Linked DNA regions of Homo sapiens: regions 2 and 3 are each linked to region 1. The links are contacts of gene promoters, found by promoter capture Hi-C in blood cells and fetal thymus (Javierre and others, 2016). All regions are on one chromosome and are shown on one strand. Each heading gives the region's core, a stretch centred on a gene start or on the middle of the fragment in contact. The rest is flanking DNA. Distances are from core to core; before and after follow the strand shown. Region 1 holds the start of PLAG1 (PLAG1 zinc finger). Region 2 has its middle 6.3 kb from the start of RB1CC1. Region 3 has its middle 71 kb from the start of PCMTD1-DT.

Region 1 (3,126 bases), core at 614-3,113:
AGTAACAGAAAGGGAAGGCTCTTCCATCACCACACCCTCCCAGCACCTCTGCTTTTGGTCCTCAGACAGTGATTCTGTGTAGGTGATGAAAACCATAAGAAAAGAGAAGCTGTCCCTTTAAAATGCCCTGCTCTGTCCCATATCCCACGTGGAACCAACATCAGCAGCACTTTCCCATTAACATCAATGTGATGCAAGAGACATCATCCTTTTATACACATAAAACCAGAAAACCTCAGCTTAACATTCTTTAGGAAGGATGAACAGGTGAAGCAAACATGTCAGGAAGGGGGAAACCAAGCAACTCCACATCCCTCCCCAAAAGGTACTCCAGCCTTGCACTCCAGCCTCTCTGAGCACCATCACCTCTCTATCCCTCCTCTGCAGAGCCCAGTTTAAAGAAAGGAGGGAGCCACTAACAAAACCTGAAGCATAAATGCGACGAAAATGCAATCTAAAGCCGGAAAGGTTCATTCTTCCAATCACACATATTAACTCTATTAAGAAAATGGCATCACTTTTTTTTCCACCCAAAAAAACCCCGCAAAGATCATTAAAAGAGAGTTATAAAATAGCAAATATAGTGTTTATCTTATCTGAGATCAGTCCACATTACCAATAAGTTTAGCAGTTTCTGCACTACCACCTCCCCCCTCGCTCCCCCTGCTTCTCTTGCATCGGATTTTCACGTTTTCTCATTGTCGGTTGAGTTATAAAAGGCTTTTGCCCTTCGAAAGTTTTAAAAAATAAATAAATATTAACTCCTTGGTCCCTGCAAAGTCAAAATGGACTTCAGGGGAAAGGCGGTACATACTTTTACCTTTAGCGAGAAAAGGGGGAGCATCCCGGATTTTTAGGGATTTTTTGCGATTTTTTAAAAATTTTTATTTGGTTATATGCCTGAGTTCTCCCTCCATTTTGGTTGTTTATGATACTGACAACAAGCTGTCCCTGCTCTGTGCCGATCTCCTGCTTTCATTTAGCACCCCCTCCCCCTACCCCCCCTCGCAGCCACACACCCCGGGCTCACACCTCCCTGCAGACCCCGCACCCCGACCCCGGCTTGCCCACCTGAGGAAAGGGCAAAAACAAATTCATTTCTCCAGAAAAGAAAAACCTCTTTTGAAAAAGGGGCAAAGTTACCCCAAGTCACTCAAAGTGCCCCCCAAATATTGCCGACTGCGGGTTTCCGCCAGGCCCTTTGGGAAGCGACCTTCCCCCGGGATGTTTTGGTGGAAAATGCGGAGAGTTTACTCTCAAAACTGAATTTATATTAATTTTTCCCTTATTTTTCGGGTCTCTAATGTCTTCCGCTCTCGCTGCTGCCGCTGCCGCTGTCACAATATTCACAGCACCAGAGAGGAGGAGGAGGAGGAGGAGGAGGAAAACTTTTCAAACTTTCCAGACCCTGAATAAAGGTTTTTTTTTTTTTCCCACCGACCTCACCTTCGGGTCCCCAGCCGCATCGCCCCCTGCCCTGTCAGAAGCGACTTCGGGAGTCCTCGCAGCCCCGCGTAATTATTTTATTTTATTTTTTATTATTATTTTTCTCTCTGGGGTCCTGAGCAGGGGCTGAGAGTAGCACAAACTTTTCCTCCTCCTGCCGCCGCCGCTGCTCCTCTGCCCCCTCGGCTAGTCCCATAATTTAAATAACCCTGATATTTCTCCCGCTAAACGCCTCGCCGCCGCCCCGGACCCCCGGAGAACTCACCGCGGGGCTTTAACATCCTCCCTCCGGCCCGTCCGCCGCCTCTACACCGCCCGCGGAATTTCTAATAATTTTTTTCTCATATTTCGGGCTGGACGCGGCGGGCCTGGAAATTGTTTCCTTACGCCTCTTTCCAGCAGCCATTGTAGTGTATGCGCTGCCCCTGCAGCCCAACTTGCAGCTGCCGCCGCCGCCGCCGCCGCCGCCGCCGACGTCGCGCCCACCGCTGCCTCCCCCTGCCTGTTCGGCCACCGCCCCCGCCTCCCGTCGGCCCGCCCCCAAACCCCGCCCGCCGCTGCGCCCGCCCCCCGCGCGCGCTCCGCCCGAGAGCTGGCCACTCGGAGCCGCCGCTGGCGGGAGTTGGCCCGCCCATTGGGCCGCGACGCCGCCCGTCAAGCCGAAGTGTTAAGAGACGGGCCGCGGCTGGGGGGCGCGGTGGGGCGGGGGAAGAGGGGGCGGGGTCGCGCTCACCGCCCCGCCCACTCCTCCCGCCTCGGCCCTCCTTTCGCCAGGCGGGGGCGGGGCGAGGCCCGACCGCCCCTGCGGCCCAGGGCCCCGCGCGGCTGTCAGTCTGGCGGCGGCGCGCGCCGATTGGGCGGGCTGCCGCCGGGGAGCGGGGGCAGCAAGTTGGGATGCGCGCTACTTAAGGTCCTGCTGCGTGAGCCATTGACGTGTTTGGAGCTGGAGACGGCCTGGGTGCTGGCGAAGCGGAGGCCGGAGGTGAGTGGTTCCCCCGCCCTACCTCCGAAGCGGCCGCAGAAAAGCGGGGAGAGAGGGGTGCCCTTGGGCCGTAGCGGGGCCCGAATGCACTTCTGCGGCGCGGAGGCGCTCCCGCCAGGCTTCGCCGCAGCGCGGACCTCTTCCCGTTGCTCTTCCTCCCGCCACACGGGTCTGTTCGCTCCGGGGGCGAGGAAGATGACCTCTGCCTAGTCCGGGCAACCCCAGCTCTTCTTCCACTCTCCTGTGTAGCCTCTGAAGCGCAGTTACCGGCCCCACCCCCAGTTCCCTGCGTTTTCCTCGCCCCTTGTCTCTCTCGGCATGGTCTCGGCACAGCAAGGTGTGTTCACCTGTGCGCGCCGTCCAGGATCAGATGCTGACGGGCTACACCGCGGAAGGCGGCGAGGCCTCGGGTTCGCCCTTCGTTTCTCCTTGCCCTGCGCGCCCACCTCCGGCAGGCCACCCTTGACTTCTTGCCCCCTTCCACTTTGCACCTGGCAGTGGGTTAACGGCACGGCGTGTGCAGCTTCCGGGTTTAGCAGAGCCGCGGACCCTGCCTGGGCTCCGACCACGGGGCGTGTGGGCATGAACGTGTTCAGAAACGTTTCCTTCCCCCTGCCCTTTCAAAGCTACTTAGAGAGGGGGGACGTGAACCACTGGATGGGAAATCAGGAACTGCTTTATTAAGCAGTTTGCCCTTT
Region 2 (3,095 bases), core at 33-2,532, 3.5 Mb before region 1:
ACTCCGTCTCAAAAAAAGAAAAAAAAAATAAATATAATTGCAGTAACAAATTTATATGATATTAATTCTTTACCAAAGTACATTCAGTTTATTGGGAAGATCATGGTAAACATCTTAATTTTGTCAACTCTGCCTGAGGCATTCAGCACATGTATTAAATATTTCTCAAACAACTTAGTGTCATTACCCTAATTTTCTTTTAGGCAATGTTCAAACAACCAGCAACCACAATTCACATAATTTGGCTTTATTCAAAGTATGAGGCACAATTATTGTTCATTTTTAAAAGGGTTAAAAAGATGTACGTTTTGGACTTTGTTTTTAAAACCATAACTAATTTGGTGTATATGATTATGTACTATTTAGAGGCTGCTGGCACTATGATGATTAAGTTAATGTTTTCAGTACTGCTTATAGACCTGAAAGCTGCCCTTCTCAGCTGGTTTGTGGGTACTCAAACATACTAATAATGATGATGGCTAACTTAGGAATGACCATCTTCAAAGCTAGTGATGACTTGATGAGCTCATAAGCAACACTGTTTCCAATGCTGCAGCAACATAGTCAAGAAAACACTTCTAGAATGCTTAATTTCCTGAAAGATTTAAACCAATAGATTAAGACAAAACATTTGTAGTCATTTTTCAGATTGAAAGAGATATCTTTTTGCATCATGTTTTATTAGGTTCTTGTCTTTCATTATTTTGAAGAGCTGCCTAGCAAAGTGTCCAAAAATAGAGCTGGCACTGTTTATAAAATGCCTTAAGGCAGAAGTTAATCAGTCATGTAGACACAGATACAGAACTGATTCAAATGTCAAGTGGTAGTTGGACTTCAGGTGGTGACTTTCTAACTTTTACTGTGATCCACATTAAGAAATACAGTTTCACATTGTGACCTGGTATACATACACAGGAAAAAGTACTTGCTGCTTGTGATATACTCTGATACCTTCTATTGTTTTTTTTTCCTCTTGCTAGTCTTACACATTACATCGATTTTACTATCATCCAATGGTTTCAGAGATATTAGATTCAATGACTTAGGCCCCAAACCTTGAGATTCTTTGTTCCTGATTTTTCTGTCAGTGCCTTCCTATTTCTGTCAGTGCCTCAGTAGTGTTTATAAATAAATGCTTCTTTTTTTTTTTTTTTGAGATGGGAGTTTCACTCTCGTTGCGGAGGCTGGAGTGCAATGGCGCAATCTCAGCTCACTGCAACCTCTGCCTCCCGGGTTCAAGTGATTTTCCTGCCTCAGCCTCCCGAGTAGCTGGGATTACAGGCATGCACCACCACACCTGGCTAATTTTGTATTTTTAGTAGAGACGGGGTTTCTCCATGTTGGTCAGGCTGGTCTCGAACTCCTGACCTCAGGTGATCTGCCCTCCTTGGCCTCCCAAAGTGCTGGGATTACAGGCGTGAGCCACCGCGGCTGGTCAATAAATGTATTTTTTAAAAAGCATGACCTAACGGAGCTCATGAAACACTTATGGGTGTATCTTAGATGCCAGACATGGGTTTTAAATTTATCAACCTGTTTAGTTGTCTTAGCAGCCCTATGCAGTTTCTGTAAATTTTCTTTGATTTTACAGATGGGGCAATAAGGCATGGAGTGGTTAAGTTGCTAATTCAATGTACTTCCTTCTAGTTAGTGTTCTTAAATTAGTAACTGTCAAGGCCAGGATTTGAACCCAGGTAATCCAATTGTACGGGCTATATCCTATATATCCTATGCATAGCCTATGCTCCCCCTTAATTTGGTGCTGGTCCTGCAGGGGTTAAAAAAAATTGGCTCAGCAAGGTGGCTCCCAGCTTACACCAGTAATCCCAGCACTTGGGGAGGCCAAGGCAGGTGGATAGCCCTGAGTTCAGAAGTTCTAGACCTGCCTGGACAATGTGGCAAAACCCCATCTCTACCAAGAATACAAAAAAAAAAAAAAATTAGCCAGGCATGTGGTGGCATACGCCTGTAGTTCCAGCCACTTGGGAAGCTGAGGTGGGAAGATTGCTTGAGCCTGGGAGGCAGAGGTTGCAGTGAGCTAAGATTGCACTGCTGCATTCCAGCCTGGGCAACAGGGTGAGACCCTGTCTCAAAAACAAAAAAAGAAAAAATGTCTAGCAATAGGTTACAGAGTTTCTCAATCTCATACCTACCAGTTAATTCTTTGTTATAAGGGGCTGTCCTGTACATTTTAGGATGTTGAACCTCCTTGGCTTCTGCCCACTAGATGCCAGTAGCACCCCAGTTATGACAATCAAAAATGCCTCTGGACATTTTGTAATGTTCCCAGAGGGACAAAATCAACCCCTTTCTCAGAATTCAGGGAAAACGTGGTACATCTATATAATGAAATACTATGCAGCCATTAATATTATATTTTAGAAGAATATTTAAAACAGGCCTGGCATGGTGGCTCACACCTGTAATCTCAGCACTCTGGTAGGCTGAGGTAGGAGAATCACTTGAGGCCAGGAGTTTGAGACCAGCTTGGACAACATAGCGAAACCCTGTCTCTACAAAAATAAAAGTAAAAATATAGACCAGGCGCGGTGGCTCACGCCTGTAATCCCAGCACTTTGGGAGGCCGAGGCGGGTGGATCACGAGGTCAGGAGATCGAGACCATCCTGGCTAACATGGTGAAACCCTGTCTCTACTAAAAGTACAAAAATAAGTTAGCCGGGCGTGCTCGGGAGGCTGAGGCAGGAGGATGGCGTGAACCTAGGAGGCGGAGCTTGCAGTGAGCCGAGATCGCACCACTGCACTCCAGCCTGGGCGACAGAGAGAATAAAAAAAATAAAAATAAAAATAAAATAAAAATATAGCTCTGTGTGGTGGTGCACTCCTCTAGTCTCAGCTACTTGGGAGGCTGAGGTGGGAGGATTGCTCGAGCCAAGGAGTTTAAAGCTACAGTGAACCATGACCACACCACTGTACTCCATCCTGGGCAACAAAGTGAGACCCTATTCTAAAAAAATTGTAAAAATATGTATATTAATTTTTTTTTTGTTTTGAGATAGGGTCTCACTCTCTCACCCAGGCTGTAATGCATTGGCACACCCACGGCTTGTTGCAGCCTCAACCTCCCAGGCTCAAG
Region 3 (3,134 bases), core at 104-2,603, 4.2 Mb before region 1:
CCCAGCTCAAAGAACCCTTAAGCTTGACCATAAAGAAGGAAACAACTCAATTTAAAAATAGGCAAAAAAAAAATCTGAACAGAAAACCTCATCAAAGAATGTACACAGATGGCAAATAAGCATAGAAAACAATACTCAACATCATATGCCGTTAGAGAATTGCAAATTAAAACAATAGTGACATTATGACACACATACTAAAATTGCTAAAATCCAAACATCTGACCATACCAAGTACTGCAAGAATGTGGAGCAACAGGAACTCTCGTTCTTCACTAGTGGGAATGCAAAATGGTACAGCCACCTTGGCAGACAGTTTGGTAGTTTCTTACAAAGCAAAACGTAATCTAACCATGGAATTCAACAATTATGTTCCTATTTCCCCAAATGAGTTTAAAACTTATGTTCATAATTTACTCCCCCCTCCATGGCATTTTTTTAAAAAATTTTTGATTCAGGGGGTATATATGTGGATTTTTATATGGATATATTGTGTAATGCTGAGGTTTGGGCTTCTACTGAACCTGTCACCCAAATCATGAACACAATACCCAATAGGTAGTTTTTCAACCCTTGTTCCCCTCTCCTTCCTCCTCATTGGAGTCCTCAGTGTCTACTGTTTACAGCTTTATGTCTACTCACACAACTTGTACACAAATGTTTATATTCATAATTGCAAAATACTGGAATCAAACAATATATCCTTCATTAGGTAAATGGATAAACAAAGTATGGTACATCCATATAATGGCATATTACTCAATAATAAAAAGAAAATGAGCCATTAAGCCAAGAAAAGACATGGAAGAACTTTAAACCCATATTACTCAGTGAAAGAAGCCAGTGTGAGAAGACTGTATACTGTATGGCCCCAACCATGTAACATTCTGGGAAAGGCAAAAGTATGGAAACAGTAAAAAGATCAGGTGGGCGCAGGCAGCCTCAGTCTGGTTGACTTTGCAGAGCTATGGAGGGCAGCTTCTGCTTGGATTTCAGGGGTTCAAGCAGCAGAAGGCTTGACCCAGGGCTCGTTGTGGAGCAAGTGAAGGTGCAGATTGCATGGCACCTGCAGAAAGGTGCTTCTGGAAGCACATTGGGAAGGTGGGTTGGGGCCTCCCAGGACAATTTCAAGCAGAAGTGCATCCTCATGTGAATAGACTGCTACATGGACACCTGGAACACCGTGTCTTGTGCCCACAACTCCTGGCTTCAGCGAGAACAAGCCAACATGTGATCAGGAGACATGACACTAGCCGGAGGGCCACCCTCCGGCCGCCCCACACCATTTCTATTTCCATGTATGTGCATTATGAGGTGGGGGCCAACATGTGTGCACTGACTGCCCATTGCTTATGGGGATGGCACCGTGCCTGGACAGATGGGACTGTGTTGCTCCTGGCCCCCACCCTGCCCCCTGTCCCTTACCCCCTGCCAGTGAGTGTGGCTTGGGTCTGGTTCCTTCCTAAAGTGCTGGCAGCCCAGTGGCACCTCCTTCAGGCCTGAGGGTAGGTGGTTCCTCCCCTGGTGTGCCCAGGTCATCTTCGTGTCCTGGGCAGAGAACCCTTGTTTTATTTTATTATTATCATTTATTTCAATTTCAAGGAGAAGTGCATCCTCATGTGAACAGACTGCTACATGGACACCTGGAACACCGTGTCCTGTGCCCCCCTGTATTTTGGAGTACAAGTGGCTTTTGGTCACATGGATGAATTATATAGTGCTAAATTCTGAGGCTTTAGTGCACTGTCACTGGAATAGAGTACAATGTACCCAATATGTAGTTTTTTATCTTGCATCCTTCCTTCCCCCTTCCACTTCTGAGTCTACAAAGTTTATTATATCACTCTGTATGCCTTTGCATATTCATAGCTCAGTTCCCACTTGTAAGTGAGAACATACGGTGTTTGGTTTTCCATTCCTGAGTTTCTTCACTTAGAATAGTGACTTTCAGCTCCATCCAAGTTGCTGCAAAAGACATTATTTCATTCCTTTTTATGGCTGAGTGGTATTCCATGGTGCATATATACCATATTTTCTTTATTCACTCATTGGTTGATGAGCACTTAGGTTGGTTTCATATCTTTGCAATTGTGAATTGGGCTGCAAGAAACATATATGTGCCTGTATCTTTTTCATATAATGACTTCTTTTCCTTTGTGTAGAGACCCAAAGGTGGCATTGCTGGATCAAATGGTTGAACTACATTTAGTTCTTTAAGGAATCTCCATACTGTTTCCATAAAGTTGTACTAATTACATTCCTACAAGCAGTGTATAAACGATCACTTTACACCACATCCACACCAACATCTATTGTTTTTTGACTTTTTACTAATGGCCATTCTCCCAGGGGTAAGCTGGCATCTAATTGTGGTTTTACTTTACATTTCCCTGATGATTAGTGATGTTGAGCATTTTTTTCAGATGTTTTTTGGCCATTTGTATATCTTCTTCTTCTTTTTTACATTGCCACCGTAGAGGCACTGATTGTGTATCTTTTGAGAAATGTTTGTTCATGTTATTTCCCTTTTTTTTGATGGGATTATTTGCCTTTTTTCTTGCCGACTTGTTTGAGTTCCTTGTAGCTTCTGGATACTAGTTCTTTGTCAGATGCATAGTTTGCAAATATTTTCTCCCATCCTATGGTTTGTCTGTTTACTCTGATGATTATTTATTTTGTTGTGCAGAAGCTTTTTAATTTAATCATATCCTATTTATTTATTTTTGTTTTTGTTGCATTTGCTTTTGGGGTGTTAAGTCATGAATTCTTTGCCTATGCTGATGTCTTTATGAGTTTTTCCAATGTTATCTTCTACAATTTTTATGGTTTTGGGACTTCGATTTCAGTCTTTGATCCACTTTGAGTTGATTTTTGTAAGTGAGAGATGAGGATCCAGTTTTGTTCTTCTACATATGACTTGCCAGTTATCCCAGCACCATTTATTAAATACCCAATTTATGTTTCTGCATGCTTTGTTAAAGATCAGTTGGTTGTAAGTATTTGGCTTTATTTCTGGGTTCTCTATTCTGTTCCATTGGTCTATGTGCCTATTTGTATACCAGTACCATGCTGTTTTGGTCACTATAGCCTTGTAGTATAACTTGAAGTCTGGTAATGTGATGCCTCAAGATTTG

The links. Contacts are between HindIII fragments. The CHiCAGO score rates a contact against its expected background, and 5 or more counts as called.
Region 2: a fragment that was not itself captured here is called in contact with the fragment with the promoter of PLAG1 in region 1 in 4 of 17 cell types (total CD4 T cells, naive CD8 T cells, naive CD4 T cells and 1 more); the score reaches 10.0 in total CD4 T cells.
Region 3: a fragment that was not itself captured here is called in contact with the fragment with the promoter of PLAG1 in region 1 in 1 of 17 cell types (activated CD4 T cells); the score reaches 5.4 in activated CD4 T cells.

What each region holds. Positions count from the first base shown.
Region 1 is chr8:56,209,410-56,212,535 of GRCh38, forward strand. PLAG1 (PLAG1 zinc finger) reads right to left here and starts at 1,864. Exons shown (of 5, transcript NM_002655.3): 1 at 1,712-1,864. CHCHD7 (coiled-coil-helix-coiled-coil-helix domain containing 7) reads left to right here and starts at 2,380. Exons shown (of 4, transcript NM_001011671.3): 1 at 2,380-2,428. RefSeq lists silencers at 1,849-2,408, 2,251-2,476 and an enhancer at 2,489-2,558. The HindIII fragment of the contact is 9,849 bases long and covers 1-3,126 here.
Region 2 is chr8:52,719,193-52,722,287 of GRCh38, forward strand. No RefSeq gene overlaps it. Among named protein-coding and RNA genes, the nearest start is that of RB1CC1, 6.3 kb to the left of the region's middle. The HindIII fragment of the contact is 4,259 bases long and covers 1-3,095 here.
Region 3 is chr8:51,968,962-51,972,095 of GRCh38, forward strand. No RefSeq gene overlaps it. Among named protein-coding and RNA genes, the nearest start is that of PCMTD1-DT, 71 kb to the left of the region's middle. The HindIII fragment of the contact is 2,667 bases long and covers 21-2,687 here.